Regions from separate parts of the Homo sapiens genome. Here all the other regions are linked to region 3. The links are contacts of gene promoters, found by promoter capture Hi-C in blood cells and fetal thymus (Javierre and others, 2016). All regions are on one chromosome and are shown on one strand. Each heading gives the region's core, a stretch centred on a gene start or on the middle of the fragment in contact. The rest is flanking DNA. Distances are from core to core; before and after follow the strand shown.

Region 1 (3,695 bases), core at 172-2,671, 220 kb before region 3:
GAATCCCAGTTTTCTAGTGTGCAAGATGGGGACCATATTGCCTTGGGGATGACTTCAAGGACTGAGAGAGGTATTTTTTTTTCTTTGAGACAAAGGCCTTGCTCTGTCACCCAAACCGGACAGCAGTGGTGCAATCACAGCTCACTGCAGCCTCAACCTCCTGGGCTCAAGGGATCCTCTCACTGCAGCCTCCTGAGTAGCTGGGACTGCAGGCATGAGCACCATGCCTGGCTAATTTTTCAATTTTTTGTAGAGATGGAGTCTCACTGTATTACCCAGTCTAGAGGGAGATAAATTCTAAGCTTAGTACAGCACCTGGCTTATATGAAGAACTCAGTAATCAGTGATATTTACTTCATGTATTTATAGTTCCTAACATGGGTGTTTAGTCAGCCTCCCTTTTGCCACATCTTCCAACTGTTCAGATATCCTACTTGTCTGCCTCCTCCTCCATGAACCCTCCCTAGGTTCCCCCAATCCTCAATGATTTCCATCTCCTCTGTTGTCAGTTTGCCCCATTCCTGCCACTAGGACTCTCTGAGTGTTTCTTGTGCATTAATGTTGTTTCATTAAGAGTGGGGAGGTGGCCTCAGAAGTGGTTCAGTGGTAGTTTAAGATGCTAGGTAAGAGCACAGATTCTGCAGCCACACTGCCTGGGTTCAAATCCTGACTGGGCCACTTAACACCAATACGATTTAGTTTCCTTATCTGTAAAATGGGTTCAATAACAGTTCCTGTCTCATAGAGCTGTGAAAAAGGATTAAGTGAGATCCATTTAGATCCATGCCTGAGCTTACATGTGCTGTGTAAGTGTTAGCTATTATTATGCCCACCTGTGTAATTTTGGTAAGTTGGCGTATCTTTGTGAACCTCAGTTTTCTCATCTGCAAACCAGTAGTAATAAAATGTAATCCTCTGGGCTGTGGAATTAGATGAAGTGCTGAACATGTGGGCACAGTGCTGGGTGCATGGTAAGCACTCAGTGTTGGTAGTGGTTGTTTTTGTCAGTTCCTGGGGACAGGAGCTCTGTCTTGGTCAAGCTGGGAATACATTTTCCAGAGTCTCCTTTTTTGGGGAGTTCTGATAGAACTTGGCCCATTTAACAAACAAAATAACAGAACTTCTATTTAAAGTTGAATGCAGATCAATCATAGCAAATTTTCAGTGTAACCATATCCCATGTATTGCATGGGAAATACTTATGCCTAAAAAATTATCCACTGTTGATCTGCAATTCAAATTTAGTGGGGCATCCTGTATTTTACATAACAACCCCTCAAGAGGAACTAGTGTGAGTCTCAGAAAATCAATGGATGGAGGCAGAGGTGCTGATGGATCCCAGTGTGTCTTCTCTCTCCTCTGCTCTGGCCCTGCTGTGGCTCCCCTGGGGTCCTGGCTCCAAAGGTGGACATGCTGGGCTTGTTGAATCCTGGCATGCTCTGTGCAAATCCCTCAACAATTGTCCAGAGTCTGCCCCCTCTCAGCAACCCCACAGCTATTGCCCTGGCCCCTTCCTCACTCTGGGTACCATACCCCAGCTGTTCTCTACACAGCATCCAGAGATATCCCTTTAAAGGTGACACTGCTGGTTGGTTTCGGTTGCTCACACATGTAATCCCAGCCCTTTGGGAAGCCAAGGCTGGAGGATCACCTGAAGTCAGGAGTTTGAAACCAGCCTGGCCAACATAGTGAAACCCCGTCTCTAAAAATACAAAAATAAGCTGGGCGTGGTGGCATGTAGCTGTGGTCCTAGCTACTTGGGAGTCTGACGCAGGGGAATCACTTGAACCCAGGAGTCAGAGGTTGCAGTGAGCTGAGATCATGCCACTGCACTCCAGCCTGGGTGACAGAGCAAGACTCTATTTAAAAAAAAAAAAAAGTGACACTGCCTTCTCAAAGCCCTGCAGCGGCCCCCTTCTCACGAAGAATAAAATCTGGAGTCTGGACCTTTGCTTCCAGGCCCTGACTGTTCTGGCCCCAGCCTCCCTCTGGCCTCTTTCCTCCTGTCTCTTGCTCACTTGCTCTGCCCCAGACACACCTGCTTCTTGATGTTCCTGGAAGCACCTGCTGGTCCTTTTTGGATGAGACATTCTGTCCCCTGAGTACAGGAATGCTTGCTCCCCCCACACTTCACAGCATCTTTGTGCAAACGTCCCGCCCCCGAGAACTCGACCCTGGGCTGGGCTCCCCTCTCACCTTGTCTTTTCCTCTGGGCGATCATCACCTCTTGACACTCCCAGCACTCTTCTGTTTGTTGACTGTCCCCTTCACAGTCCCAGGAGCCCATGAGGGCAGGGACTCCGAGATGTCCTCTGCTGCATCCTGGCCACAGCTACACGCCTCCCTGGATGGACGCCCCGTAGGCCAGTGTGGAACGAATGGGTCACGTAGTGGTGATGAGATGGGGAGGCTTTGCAGGTTCCCACGCTGTAGAACTTGGCAAATGAGTGAAATTGTGCCAGGAAACAATTCTTGGAGTTCTTGTATCAGCTCAAAGCCTTAAGGTTGAGCCTGTGGCAGGTAATGTTGAACCAAGCTTCTGGAAGTTTCTGCCAGTGACACCCATGTCCAGTGGTTGGACTCATTTTGACTTTGTGCTCTTTGTATCGCTGATTCTTCCTTCTTTTCCTCTTCCTGTTGTCAGTAGTATTGATTGGTAACTGGGCTCACTTAAGCATTTAAAAGGACAATGATGGAAATGCAGCCTTGCTCTGTAATAACATGAAGGGCGAACCGTTTCATTAGAATGCCGTAGAGTTCTCCGGGGGGTGGGGGGGTTGCATCCTTAGGACATTGCTACTGTTTGGATGTTCGCCCCTTCCAAATCTCATGCTGAAATTCGATCCCAGATGTTGGAGGTGGGGCCTGGTGGGAGGTGTTGGGTCATGGCGGTGGATCCTCATGAATGACTTAGCACCATTCCCTTGGTGATGAGCGAGTTCTCACTCATTTCACGTGAGATCTGGTTGTTCAAAAGTGTCTGGGACCTCCCGTTTTCTCTCATGCTCCTGCTCTCGAGTGTGATGTGTGTACCCCACCCCCTTGCTTTCCACCATGAGTGAGAGCTCCCAGAGGCCTCCCCAGAAGCTGAGCAGATGCTGGCATCACACTTCCTGTACAGCCTGCAGAACTGTGAGCTAAATAAACCTCTTTTTTTTTTTTTTTTTAAAGTTATCCAGCCTCAGATATTTCTTTATGGCAATGCAAAAATGGCCTAACACATTCATTTCAGCTGTGTCAGTACCCCAGCTGCCCTCAGAGGTGGAAGGGATGTATGTTTCGCCTAATGTGCACTTAGAAAACTAAGTGCAGGCCGGCTGCAGGTGGCTCACACCTGTAATCCCAGCACTTTGGGAGGCCGAGGTGGGCAGATCACCTGAGGTCAGGAGTTCAAGACCAGCCTGGCCAACATGGTGACACCCTGTCTCTGTTAAAAATACAAAAAATTAGCCAGGCATGGTGGTGCATGCCTGTAACACCAGCTACTTGGGAGGCTGAGGCAGGAGAATCATTTGAATCCGGGAGGTGAAGGAGGTTGCAGTGAGCTGAGAGCATGCTGCTGCACTCCAGCCTGGGTGACAGAGTGAGACTCTGTCTCAAAACAAAACAAAACAAAAGAAAACAAAAAAAACAACTGAGTGCAGAGGTTAATACCTTCCCAAATCCTATAGTCGCTGAGTGTAAGCTGAAGCTCA
Region 2 (3,585 bases), core at 1,054-3,553, 160 kb before region 3:
TCTTATTATCAGGGGGATGAACCCCCCTTACCCTTGCCCTGTCCCTGACACCTGGGCCGTGAATGAGGTGCGGTCATGGGTGGGCTGAGTTGTAGGAAGGCAGAGAGCTGGGCGGCAGTGTAGGTTCTGAAATTTCCCAAAAGGAGAGACTCGGGGATGCAATCTGGTTGGAAGAAATGATTAAGTTTACTCAACGTGTTGGCAAATTCTTACTTAGCTTTGATAAAAGAAAATTTTCAGCTGAATTAAATTTAAAGGAGTTTAATTGAGCAATGAACGATTCGCAAATCGGGCAGCCCCCAGAGTCACAGCAGAGACTACCATGCAGCCACGTGGTGGAAGAAGATTTATAGACAAAGAAAGGGAAATGATGTACAGAAATTGGAAGTGAGGTACAGGATGGCTGGATTGGTTGCAGTATGGTGTTTGCCTTATTTGAACACAGCTTAAAGACTCAGCAGCATATGAGTGGTTGAAGTACGGCCGCTGGGCTTGGCCAAGACTCAGCTATTGTTCCGGGCGCATACTCCTAAGTTAGGTTTTCAATCTTGTCTACCTATTAAGCTAGGTTGCAGTTCATCCACAAGGACTCAAATATAGAAGTATGGAGCCCTGGCTGGGCGCAGTGGCTCACGCCTGTAATCCTAGCACTTTGGGAGGCCAAGGTGGCTGGATCACCTGAGGTCAGGAGTTCGAGACCAGCTTGGCCAACTTGTGAAACCCTATCTCTACTACAAATACAAAAATTAGCTGGGCGTGGTGGTGTGTGCCTGTAATCCCAGCTACCCGGGAGGCTGAGGCAGTGGAATCACTGGAACCTGGGAGGTGGAGGCTGCAGTGAGCCGAGATTGTGCCACTGGATTCCAGTCTGGGCAACAGGGCAAGTCTCCATCTACAAAAAAAAAAAAAAAAAAAAAAAAAAAAAAGAAGTACGGAGTCCTTCTCAGACCATATTTAGTTCACTTTAACAGCTGTTTTGTTTCAGATTAAATAAATCAGTAAGATGCTTTAATCCACATTTTCATAAGATTGAGAATATCAACTCTTTATCAAACAATGTTATTTTCATCATATCAAGGGGTGGCTTTGAGGTTGCTGATGGAAATGAAGGCGGGAACTAACATGTCTCCCAAGCTTCCTTGGCTGGATAGGGCTGGATAGCTGGAGGTAGCCTGCCACTTCTCTCCTGAAGCTGGTGAATGGCACACCTCAGACAGCTGCCCTTGTGTCTCTTAACCTGTCCCTTTGCAAGGACGCATTGTCAATCACAATCCCTTACTTCCTATGTTTTCTGACCTCCCTCCATACTCCATTAAAGGAGTCTGGATTTTTATCGAAGTTCTGTCACTTGACAGCTGTGGGTGACCTTGAACAAGTCACTGATGCTCTCTAAGCCTCGGGTTCCTTATTTATAAAATGGGAATCAGAATACTTCCTACCTCATAGGGCAATGATCAGATTAAATATGATAATATTTGGAAAGCAGTTGCCACCGTGCCTGGCATATTTAAAATATTCTCACTATTGCTGTCATCATCATCATCACAGCAGCAGTAGTAGTAGGTATTTGTATGTGTTTTTGCAGCAGAGGCTAGAGTCTTGGAGAATCTTTAATATGCTCAGAGTTATTAGAGCATTGCCATCTTTGCTGGAGAAAAGGACTTGTCTTAGCTGTGTTTTGTTATCTAGTTAAGTTCAAAAATGCCCACCTGAGATCTGCGGGGGGGGGGGGGGGGGGCAGTGCACCCTTTTAAACCCTGAGAAATGGAAATTAATTATGACAGCAAAAAGACCACCATCCTAGTCAGAATGAGCTAGGCTTATCGTGCTGTAACAAACAACCCTAAAAATCTCAGTGCCATAATATGCAACAGCTGATTTCTTGCTCACTGCAAGCCCATCATAGGTAGGCAGTGGCGGAGTCTGCGCTCTACCCCGTGCAGGGCCCCTGCCTCCGCTCTCTGGAAGTTTGCTGGTTGCCATAGGGGAGAAGAGTGAGACTGGGGAAAGGCTCAGGAGCGTTTCACTGCCTCAGCCTGGAGGCGCAGGTCAGTTCCGCTTGCATTTCATTGGCCAGTACTGGTCACATGGGCTGAGAATTACAGGTTCCTATCGCTCCAGGAAGGAGCCTGAAACTGGCCGGCTCTGAGTCAGTTCATCCCTAGCGTGTCCGTGTCCGCAAAGGGCACAGCAAAGACCTTAACGCAGCGCCAGAGGCCATGTGGCCAGGGGTTTTGTTTAGAGTAGGAGCTGACAAACATTTTCTTAAGGGGCCAGAGAGTAAATATTTTAGGCTCTGAAGGCCATGTGGTCCCTGACGCAACAACTCAGCTCTAGAAAGGAGCCTAGGCAATGTGTAAATAAATGGACCTGGCTGAGTGCCAATGAAACCTCATTTGCAGAAACAGGTGGGCCCTGCAGTCCCTGGTTTAGAGCAGCCCAGAGCATCTCTTAGAAAACCAAAATCGTATTTTTAATAAAAACATAATATTCCAAGTGATCCCCCTCAATTTGCCAGATGAATAGGGCTGCTGTGACGAGATGAGGATAATGTGAGGGGGTATTCAAATGACCACAGTTACCATCTCAGTGACAGACGTGAACCCAAAAGTATCGGGGACATGTCTCAATCTATTTAGAAAGTTTTATTTTGCCAAGGTTAAGAATGCGCCCGTGACACAGCCTCAGGAGGTCCTGAGGACATGTGCCCAAGATGGTGGGGCACAGCTTGCTTCCATACATTGCAGGGAGACATGAGACATCAATCAATATTTGCGAGATGTACGTTGGTCCTGTCTGAAAGGGTGGGACAACTCGAAGTTGGTGGCGGGGGCAGGGTGACTTCCAGGTCATAAGCACGTGTAAACATTTTCCAATTGGCAATTGGTTGAAAGAGTTACTATCAATAGAAAGGAATGTCTGAGTTACGATGAAAGGTTGTGGAGACCAAGGTTTCATCATGCAGAGGAAGCCTCGAGGTAGCAGGCTTCAGAAACAAGATATTGTACATGTTTCTTGTCAGACTGAAGGTCTGTGTTGATGTTGGGGTGATGAGGCATGTCTGACCCCCACTTCCCGTCCTGGCCTGAACTAGATTTTCAGGTTAACTCTGGAAGGCCCTTGGCCGAGAGGGGGGATCCGTTCAGATAGCTGAGGGGCATTAGAATTTTATTTTTGGTTTATACAGACAACGATGACTAGCTTCTATTCTTGCCCCATAGATTCTTAAAGTACTTCCGTTATTCCAATGCCTTTTTTTTTTTTTTTTTTTTTTTTAGAAAAAGAAGTAAACGATCTCACTGTTTTGGAACTCTGAGTTTCTAATTTGAAACAGCAGAATGGGATATTTAAGAGCAGATGAGAAAAGTTAGCAACTGCTGAGTCTTCTTTAGCATAATTCATTTAACATATAACCTAGGTAGCCCTTATTTTCACATATTTTAAGTGTTCTAGAAACGCCTTTGGAAGCTTCTTCAAGGAGAAGCCAAACTTAGAAATTCCTTTTCTCTCTCTCTTCTTCCATAAATACCCCAAAGCGGCCACTGCACCAAGCGCTGTTCTAGGCATGAGGATGTCGGAAGAGAG
Region 3 (3,512 bases), core at 572-3,071:
AAGGCAGTGGAAAAGCTCTCCCCAGCTTTTGTGTACAAATACCAGGAGAAAAGGCAGCCTACCACTCCCACATAAAGAGCTGTAATTACTAGCTACAGAATAGAATTCTTTTGTTGTCCAGCTTTTAATGAGTTTTGTAAAAACCATGCAGAATTAAAGTGCTCTACTAAATGGTTTCAGGCAGACACACAACTAATCAAATTTAAGCTTGCTTATTTTACTCAACAGGGCTTGTTAGATGGCAGACAAGCCAAGTTTTTCCACATAAATCAATTTCAAGTTTGGTGTTGCTGATGGATCGCTGCTTTTAAACCAAAAAAAAAAAAAAAAAAGGATAAAGAGCAGAAATGTAACAGCTGAGAATGGTTACATTTAAAAACAAGGAGAATTTGCCTGACAACAGTACCCTTATTGGAACAAGTAATCACTTATGTAAGATTATTTAGATAAATTTGAAAACAAACAAAAAAAAGAAACAACACAACCTTGTAACACACATTTGAAGGTAGTTTGCTTTTTTCGCTTTGAAAGCGATCAGTTTAGAGAGATGAATGACTAATCCCAGAAATGAGTATCTGAGCATTTCCCTGCGGATGGTCGGTGCTAACATTTACTGTGCTGCGCTACTACTCAGAATTTTAATAAAGCTTAACGTGGAGATTTATCTCTCTGATTGGTGGTGGTGTGGGCAGGCAGATAACGCACAGGCGCTTCCATTGTATGGAACAAATATAATCTCTTACTGGCGAATTAAAATAAATTACTCCTGTCTCCAAAGGGGACTGCTCATTTCTTTACTTTCTAAATAACTAGCGCGTCAACTACTGTTTTAGGCTACCCTGAAATTGTGTACAGGCTAACATAAAAGGTCTCCTGCCGTAAAAAATAAAATAGGATAACACACACGCAACCCAAACACACACAAGCAAACACTCAGTTACCTCTTCATTCAAATGCTGTAGGAACGAGAAAATAAAGGCAGCCCAGCGCAACCAGATCTCATTTCCGACAGGTTCCCCACGCTCTCCTCGCACGACCGAGGGGTCCCCAGCCCGGGCCCTGGACGCGGCGAGCAGGTGACCATGGCACCCCGCGCCCCGCAGGTTCCCGCGGTGCCGCAGCCTTCAGGTGTCTTGGGCGCCCCAGATCCTCCGGGCCCGGCGCCGCTCCAGGAAGTCACCCTCAAAGCCGGGGCGCCAGGCCACCTCGGACACGCTCTCCTGTGCCCCCACTCCCGTTCGCGAAATCATGTTCGCCGGGACATCCACTGGGCAGGACCCCCTACCAGGCCTGCGTTTCCTTTTAAAAACAAAAGCGAGCGAAACAAGCCAGCGCGCCCTGGCCGCGCCCGCCGCTAGGCGACCCCGAAGACAGCGGCCCTAGCACGCAGGAACCCCCCGGCCGACCCCGCCAGCCCCGGAGGCCACTCCATAACCGGAAAACGAGCCGGCGCGGAACTCAGACGCGCGCCCCTAGAGTCCTCGCAGCAGCCGCCACCCCCACCTGCACCCCCGGCAGCGCCCCGAGATCTGCGTGTCAGTGCCCCCCGCGACCCCCGCCCAGGCCCCGGGTGACCCTCCATGGGACTGGAGCCGCGCGCCGGGCGCTCTCTGCGGGCCCAGCTCTTACCCTGCCGCTGCGGGCAGGGCCGGCGCTTGGTCGGGACGGTGGCTGCTCGGCGCCCGCGGCTGCTCGGTGCGCGCCGGGCGAGGGCGAGGGCGCCGGCCAGAGACGATCAGGGAGGCCGGACGCTGGCCGGGCGGCTCCGGGAGCTCTGAGCTGGAGCGACACCGCACTCGTCAGTCTCTGGAGGAAGTAACCGGGCCGTCCCCCACGCGGCGCGCTCTTCAGGAGCGGGAGGAGGAGGGAGGAGGGAGGAGGAAGGAGGGACGGCCGAGTGGAGGGGAGGGGAGGAAACGAGGGAGGAGAGAAGAGAGAGGGGAGGGAAGGGGAGGAGAGAGAAGAGGAGGGGAAGGGAGGTAGGCAGGATGGGGAGAAGCGGGAGGAGAGGGAAGGGGGCAGCAGGAGGGTTGGGGGAGCGGAGGGAGAGGAGAGGGAACGCACGAGGGGAGAGAAGAGGAGGGCGGAGGCGGCGAGGGAGCGCGGGGCGGGGCTGACACCTTCCGGCCCAACCTTCCCTCCGCCTCCTGCTGTCACTCGGCTGGGTCCCTCGCCGGCTGGCCCTGAGGCCCCGGGAGCAGGGCCTCGGCCCCACGTGCGCGCGAGTGTGCGCCCTGGGAGCCGGGCGGAGACTTTCCGTGGAGCGCTCGGCGTCCTCTCTGGGGCCAAGGCCCTAACGCCAAACCTGCCTTTGGAATTCCGCAGCGACGGAGCAGTGGTGCTGGTGGCACCGAAGGGCAGCCGGGCTTGGGTAATAAGGCCCTGAAATTGAGCCGACCCCATTCTTGAACCTCTGAATGGGCTTAGGACTAATGATCATTCTATCACAAAAAGGCTCCAAATGAGGCGCTTCCTGTAGAAACCGGGCCCTGGCTGTGTCCCCGAGTCGTGGTGCTGATCGCGCTGCTCCCGGGAAGCCCCGATCCCGCAGGCTCCGCGGGAGTGGCGCCCTCTGGAGCTGAGCGGTGCCCAGATAGCGACCCGCCTTGGCCGCGCTTCAATCTGGGCTGGGCACTCCACGCACATCATCGTCACTCTCGGAGGACTTGCGGCTCCCACTTTACACAGGTGGGAACTGAACCTTAGGATGAATAACCTGCCACGTCAGATTGATGAGAAATTCAAGGTGGAAACCTGAGTTTATCTGACTCCGAAACCCTGGTCAAAACCACCCCCTACACTGTGGTTTCCGTTTTTATCAGAAGGTGCTTGAGTCCATGGCTGTTTGGACTCAGGTCACATGCTCAATATTTTGCAGGAAAGTTTAGATTCCTGAAGTTGTGGATGAAATAGGAAACCCCAGCTTAGGCGAGGCCACGGGGCTGAAAGCTGCTCACATCTCAAGAACTGCGGCACCACCGGGAAGGGAGAGGAATGGCCCAGCTTCTCTGTGACTCAGGGTTCTAGGTTTCCATGGTGACTCTAGGTCTAGAGTTATCCGGATAATTGAGATATCGGTGCACCTTAATGTTTCTGGGTCCCCGAAGGTCTCCGGGTATCACCGTGGCATGAGTCACAGTCAGAATCTATACGGCTGAAACAATCACGTATAGGGGAAGTGATTATTTCTTGGAGACTGAATTGATTCTGATGGCTTCTCAGTGTATATTCAGGCCCAGATTAGAGAACACAGATAGGTCAAGAAAGAGTTCCATAAATGGAATACAGATCCATAGTAAGTTACCATGGAGACATGAGTATGTTACTATTTTTTTAAAAAACCGTAGCAGAAAATACTGACTCATCTGGGCTGCAGTTTCAGCTAATATAGGGTCTTTCTCCCTCAGGCTACTTGCACAGCCCTGAGAAGCTGGGTATAGACAGCTGCTCCCCAAAGCTCAGCTACTTCCCGAAGCTCACTTGCCCCAAGCAGACTGCCTTGTCCCACCATG

Evidence for each region. Contacts are between HindIII fragments. The CHiCAGO score rates a contact against its expected background, and 5 or more counts as called.
Region 1: a contact is called between a fragment that was not itself captured here and the fragment with the promoter of ETS2 in region 3, in 11 of 17 cell types (endothelial precursors, M1 macrophages, megakaryocytes and 8 more). The highest score is 19.0, in endothelial precursors.
Region 2: a contact is called between a fragment that was not itself captured here and the fragment with the promoter of ETS2 in region 3, in 7 of 17 cell types (M0 macrophages, megakaryocytes, M1 macrophages and 4 more). The highest score is 12.1, in M0 macrophages.

The regions. Positions count from the first base shown.
Region 1 is chr21:39,024,810-39,028,504 of GRCh38, reverse strand. No RefSeq gene overlaps it. Among named protein-coding and RNA genes, the nearest start is that of LINC02940, 7.4 kb to the right of the region's middle. The HindIII fragment of the contact is 2,234 bases long and covers 305-2,538 here.
Region 2 is chr21:38,964,740-38,968,324 of GRCh38, reverse strand. No RefSeq gene overlaps it. Among named protein-coding and RNA genes, the nearest start is that of LINC01700, 11 kb to the left of the region's middle. The HindIII fragment of the contact is 2,334 bases long and covers 1,137-3,470 here.
Region 3 is chr21:38,804,238-38,807,749 of GRCh38, reverse strand. ETS2 (ETS proto-oncogene 2, transcription factor) reads right to left here and starts at 1,821. Exons shown (of 10, transcript NM_005239.6): 1 at 1,630-1,821. RefSeq lists silencers at 1,099-1,198, 1,219-1,318, 1,429-1,718, 1,909-1,978, 1,999-2,328 and enhancers at 2,439-2,598, 2,609-2,668, 2,849-2,988, 2,522-3,022. The HindIII fragment of the contact is 4,522 bases long and covers 650-3,512 here.